Regions from separate parts of the Homo sapiens genome. Here region 2 is linked to region 1. The links are contacts of gene promoters, found by promoter capture Hi-C in human tissues and cell types (Jung and others, 2019). All regions are on one chromosome and are shown on one strand. The core of a region is centred on a gene start or on the middle of the fragment in contact, and the rest is flanking DNA. Distances in the headings are between cores, read along the strand shown. Region 1 holds the start of MTO1 (mitochondrial tRNA translation optimization 1). Region 2 overlaps KCNQ5 (potassium voltage-gated channel subfamily Q member 5).

Region 1 (3,114 bases), core at 468-2,967:
ATGATGCTACAGAACGGCCATCCAACCATTACCCATTAGAGCAAAAAAAGTACTGTCCAGTACTAAACACAAAATCCAGGGACGACAACCCAGAAGGAATATAGGATGCAAAAGGTAGCATGGCGCTGGGCACGGTGGCTCATGCCTGTAATCCCAGCATTTTGGGAGGCCGAGGCGGGCGGATCACAAGGTCAGGAGATCGAGACCATCCTGGCTAACATGGTGAAACCCCGACTCTACTAAAAATACAAAGAAAAAAAAAATTAGCCGGGCGTGGTGGTGGGTGCCTGTAATCCCAGCTACTCGGGAGGCTGAGGCAGGAGAATGGCATTAACCCGGAAGGCGGAGCTTGCAGTGAGCCGAGATGGCGCCACTGCACTTGAGCCTGTGTGACAGTGCAAGACTCTGTCTCAAAAGAAAAAAAAAAAAAAAAGGTAGCATGGTTCTTCCAAAAGGCATCACAAAATCTTGACAGAAACACAAAGATCAGGCTGGGCAGAGTACTGAGCACCTGCAATCCCAGCTACTGGTTAGGCAGAGGCAGGAAAAGTTCTTGAGTCCAGAAAGCGGAGCCTGTAATGTGCAACGATCGTGCCTATGAGTAGTCACTGCACTCCAGCCTGGGCAACATGGCGAGACCCTGTCTCTAAAAAAATGTTTTTAAATAAAAACACAAGAACCGTTTAATAAAGGATTTTTTTATTTTATTAATATTATCATTATTTTGAGACGGAGTTTTGCTCTTTTGCCCAGGCTGGAGTGAAGTGGCGCAATCTCGGCTCACTGCAACCTCTGCCCCCGGGTTCAAGCGATTCTCCTGCCTCAGACTCCCGAGTAGCTGGGATTATAGGCGCCCGCCACCATGCCCGGCTAATTTTTGTATTTTTAGTAGAGACGGGGTTTCGCCGTGTTGGCCAAGCTGGTCTCAAACTCCTGACCTCAGGTGATCCACCTGCCTTGGCATCCCAAAGTGCTGGGATTAAAGAAGTGAGCCACTGCACCTGGCCATAAACCATTGTTAATAATGTTAATTCACCCTTTATCTGGAGTAACATAGTAGAAGGTAAACGCAGCAATGAACTAAGAAGCTACCAGCGAGTAGTTGGTAGCTCCCTTTCCCAAGGCACTGACCCCGAACCCCAACCTCCTACAACGGACGACTGTCAGCAGCAGCATAATCTATGGTTCGCAGAATAGACTAATATAGAGTTCTGGCCTGGCCCGCCTGATCCTTGCGAGACACTGATCGAGGCTAAAACCACAGAAGGTAGGATTCTCACTAGCTTTGAGGAAAGGAAGAGGTCCCCCGCTTCAGACCGGGGGAGGCGGGAAGGAAGCAGCCTGCGTCCTACGCCAAGTTCCACAGCACCCGCGCTCCTCACCGATCGTGTCCACGCGGTGAGTGAGGAGCAGAGTCCGAGAGCCGCACCGAGCGGCGGCGGTGGCTGCCTCAGTCCCGGCATGTCCTCCACCAATGACTATCACGTCGAAGTGCGGAGTCCGGGGCGCCGCGCTGTCACTGCTCAACCGTGCCAACGGAAATTGCTGCTTGGTGAAGGAAACCGCGACCCAACGGCCACAGCCTCGGAAGTAGAACATGCTGGGAGAAAAATCTATCTGACTTTGAAGCTGACACGAGTGACGGTCAAAAAAACTTACGCAACAAGAGACAATCTGCAGGGCGCGGCCATCTTGCTTTAATATCACGGGGTAGGACGTCTACGTCCAGCGTCGCCGCTGATTGGCGGTTTGGAGCTACTTTCCTGGTGAGGGAGATGGGTGATCGCACGGAGGGCCGGTTGTGTATTTTCTTTCCTAGTTCGTGCGGGCTTTTTTTATTATTATTATTTTTTATTTTTATTTATTTATTTATTTATTTATTTATTTATTTATTTATTTATTTATTTATTTATTTATTTTGAGACAGAGTCTCGCTCTGTTGCCCAGGCTGGAATGCAGTGGCGCGATTTCGGCTCACTGCAAGCTCCCCCTCCCGGGTTCGCGCCATTCTCCTGCCTTAGCCTCCGAGTAGCTGGGGCTACAGGCGCCCGCCACTACGCCCGGCTAATTTTTTGTATTTTTAGTAGAGACTGGGTTTCACCGTATTAGCCAGGATGTTCTCGATTTCCTGACCTCGTGATCCGCCCGTGCGGGCTTTTTTTGATTTCCTGTGGTTCTGGGTTGGGAGCTCCTACTAAAGGTCATCTTTTGTACTTTCTTAGGCCCTGCAGTCCTTATCGCCAGGTGGCCACCTACGATCAATGAATTTGATCACTTTGCCTTATCAGATCTTTGTGATCTGACAATCTGATACACCGTCACCTTCTGTTTGTCTATAAAAACTAAGGGCTGAAAATAAGAATAGATTCGGGCCGGGCGCGGTGGCTCACGCCTGTATTCCCAGCACTCTGGGAGGCCGAAGCAGGTGGATCACAAGGTCAGGAGATGGAGACCATCCTGGTCAACATGGTGAAACCCCATCGCTACTAAAAAAAAAAAAAAAAAAAAAAAAAAAAAAAATTAGCCGGGAGTGGTGGCATGCACCTGTAATCCCAGCTACTCAGGAGACTGAGGCAGGAGAATCGCTTGAACCTGGGAGGCCGAGGTTGCAGTGAACCAAGATTGTGCCACTGCACTCCAGCCTGGGCGACAGAGCAAGACTCCGTCTCAAAAAAAAAAAAAGAAAAAGAAAAGAAAAAGAATAGATTCGAAAGGAGTTCAAATATATTTGTGGACTGAAAGATTCATGATGGTGCCTGGGCATGGTGGATCACGCCTGTAATCCTAGCACTTTGGAAGGCCGAAGGGGGCAGATTGCCTGAGCTCAGGAGTTCGAGACCAATCTGGGCAACATGGTGAAACCCCGTCTGTACTAAAATACAAAAAAAAAAATTAGCCAGGTGTGGTGGCATGCACCTGTAGTCCCAGCTACTTGGGCGGCTGAGGCAGGAGAATTGCTTGAACCCGTAGGCAGAGGTTGCAGTGAGCCGAGATCGTGCCACTGCACTCCAGCCTGGCGACAAGAGTGAGACTCTGTCTCAAAAAAAAAAAAAAGAGAGAGAGAGATTCATGATGGCTAATTGGTTAATTAGAAGAATCGGTTGGTTGGAGGTT
Region 2 (3,144 bases), core at 168-2,667, 780 kb after region 1:
ATGGCTTCTTGAAAGCAGCAGAAAATCAAATATGGAACATACCCAAAGTGGGAAAGAAATAATTACTTAATTCAGCACATTAATAAAAAAGATCTTACAAATTAAATGTTGTTCCAAAGACATCTTAAACACCTACTACAGCATCATACACATTTATTGAGAAAATGCCAAGTTTTATATTATGGTATTCTAGCAACTCAATGCAATAAAAATTTCCAGAAAAACAAATGGAATAATGTAATTTTTATAAAAAATACGATACATATGACCAGTGTTACTTTTTTTTATTTTTTTGTTATGCATTTGGAAATGCCACTAATGCAAGGTTTTATTTAATAATTGAATAATAATGTAGGGTAATGTGGTGTTGAAGAGAACAAGCCCTGGGGTCTATCTGATTTGAATCCTGATTCCTCTATTTATGGCCTGGAGAAAGTTTCTTGATCTTTCTAGGCTTCAATTTTCTCCATCTGTAAAATGAGGATATGGTGTAGGGTTGTGAGAATTCAATGTAATAATGCACTTAAAGTGTTTAATATGATGTTTGGCACATGGTGAGCTGAAAGCATTATTATTATCATCATCTTTTTCTTAGCATTGCTTAATGTCCTTTTATAGGATTATTTCTTCTCCTAGCAATACTTCTGAGAGAGTCAATAGATTTCAGCTAGAGAAGCAAGGTCACAAACCAATTCAGCCCTACAGTGAGATACTTTTCATTTGTTTCTCTCAAAATATTCAAGTTGTAATTCCAAGAAACCATTCATCCTTTATGCTAACAGGCCTCTAACCACAATTTAATAAAATTTCTTTTTTTCCATAAACAAAGCCAAACATAATATCTTGTTCATCTGATTATAAGCAGAATAGCTGCTATCTGAACACTGCTGTATCACAGACAATAATGGCAGTAATTACTAGCCACCGCACCCCCAATCACCTAAGACATGTGGTATCCATCAGTGTAACAAAAAATGAAAAGAGGCAAACAAGTCTGCTCACTCAACTTTGTATGTTGATATTTGATTTATAGTTCAATAGAGTTACATCTATTCTATAAGTAATTCCTAGGTACTTAGTATGTTTTGAACATGGTGGATGCCTAGAATAAATTTCTCATTCAGTTGAATTCCTTAGTATTGTGTTAGGTGTCACAGATACAAACTAAAGTTAAACTTTACCTTACCTAAAGCTTAAAACCTTATTCTGAGGCATATTGTATTCAGAATTAAAAATAGTCAAGTTCTTCAATTACAAGATAAGATTTAGTAAAGGCAAGGCAAGCATGAGTAAAATGTTAATACCAGATACATTTATTCTCTGTGACAGCAGACACTGATAACATTTCAAGGTAAATTTAAATAACTTAGAAAAGTTCATGGTATGGCCAACTGTGATGATAATCTTTACTGCAAGATCCCTGGGGCAAAAAGTTATTTTATGTCATTCTAATATAAGTACTCCCATTTCTGAGGTTCCCAAATTGTCTAGAAACTATCCCATCTGCACCATTCCCTAAAGATAATCAATCTCACCAGGTGATCTTAAACCCAAAGGCTGGTGCTGGTGTTTCTGGAGGACAGTATCTGAAAAGCCCAGAGTTTCTTACCCCAGTAACTGATGTAGCTGATGTGAGTAAGTCCTGGCTTGCCTGACCACATGTCAACACGGAGGAGCAGGGTAGTAGAGGCTTCAGAGAGTAGTACGCCATGCGGTTTTGGTTGACCCACTGAGAGGGAAACAAGGTAAACTGAGACTATAATTACTGAACTAATTTGCTTTGGTGGCCTAAGAAGATAAGTCTTCAAAAAAATTCAAAACTTGTTATAGAAACATACATACATACATATACCCCAAATCAAACCAAAAACAAAGCTGAAAAAAGTACTAACTAAAAATATCAATTATACCTAAGAATTAAAGACTCCTGTTATCCAAAAACACTGCTTTGGAGTTATGCCAGCAAGCACCCTTAACATTTGGTCCTATGTTACAGCAGCCTTTTTTGAAGGAAAATACAATGAAGAATCTTGACACATTGATTTCAACTCCACATAAAAATATTTTTAATCAGCATTTTATATGCCCAGATTTTAAAGAAAATGTCAAATGTATGGAAAAAAGCAAAAATAGATATAAACAAGGAGAAGTGACAGCATTTTTAAAAAGCAATGTTGGTCAATTAATGCAACCACGACAATCTAAAGGGATGAATAGTAAAATTTCATACTAATTACCAGAATCTTGTTTTCTAACATTTCCATACAGAAATATTTATGTTCTTTCTCAATTTAGGATGCTTACTCCAGAAATTCACTTCAAAAACTGGGAACAGAGACACCAATCTGCTTCTTCTCAGACTTACCATACAACGGAAACATCTTCTCCCTCCTGTGTCAGCCCTGAGCATATTCTGACTCAGTAAAATTGAGGTTATAATAGAGTAAAATACTTTATGATGGAAATTTTATTCTGCTGCTTTGTGACATAAAAAATTTAAATAATCCAAGAAAAAGGGAGAGAAAGACAAAATTTTCCATTCTTTCAGATACATTACATTCCCACACACTTCTCCCATTCCTAGCTCACATGCTGATGTGCATGCTGATGTGTCTTTGTGTTCAAGATAAGAGTAGAGAATACCCAGTCTTTTTCATGAAGTACGAAATAGGATGTGCAGTAGATCAAGTCAGGTTAGTTACCTCCCATTATCCAAAAACACTGCTTTTGTAACCTCAAAAGTCCAAAGGTCTTTGCAAGAGTTAATGAAATTAAATCCTATAATAATTGTATCTCCAAAGATACAGTGCTCTGAATTTACTTAAACAGTTACATAGGAGCAATAACCAGTTTCAAAATCAATATAAGATTCAGAATGGATATATTTAAAAACAAAAGAAAGAGACTGTCTAGTAAACTAGGTTAAAATGTTCAGTGATTTACTCCCTCAATTCTAAAATGGATCAATTTTTCTAAGCCAATGCTCCCATCTCATAAATCACTGGAAAATCCTTCTAAATATTAATGGTATAAGGCTACAGGAATATAAAACCCTAAGGCTTAGTTTAAAAGAATCTAGAGTGAAATAAGGGCCATGAATTCCACAAAAACAAAGTTTCACTGGGAGTCATTCTGGAAAACTGT

Evidence for each region. The method cuts DNA at HindIII sites, captures the fragments that hold promoters and counts their contacts. A contact is called where the count stands out against the background at its distance.
Region 2: a contact is called between a fragment that was not itself captured here and the fragment with the promoter of MTO1 in region 1, in 1 of the 25 tissues and cell types used here (lymphoblastoid cells).

The regions. Positions count from the first base shown.
Region 1 is chr6:73,460,340-73,463,453 of GRCh38, reverse strand. MTO1 (mitochondrial tRNA translation optimization 1) reads right to left here and starts at 1,717. Exons shown (of 12, transcript NM_012123.4): 1 at 1,383-1,717. The coding sequence starts at 1,599. RefSeq lists enhancers at 1,177-1,226, 1,247-1,306, 1,377-1,706, 879-1,724 and a silencer at 2,157-2,216. The HindIII fragment of the contact is 26,494 bases long and covers 1-3,114 here.
Region 2 is chr6:72,675,680-72,678,823 of GRCh38, reverse strand. The region is part of intron 1 of KCNQ5 (potassium voltage-gated channel subfamily Q member 5); the gene reads right to left. KCNQ5-IT1 (KCNQ5 intronic transcript 1) reads right to left here. Exons shown (of 4, transcript NR_120503.1): 3 at 1,610-1,729; 4 at 266-470. Among named protein-coding and RNA genes, the nearest start is that of KCNQ5-IT1, 47 kb to the right of the region's middle. The HindIII fragment of the contact is 4,524 bases long and covers 1-3,144 here.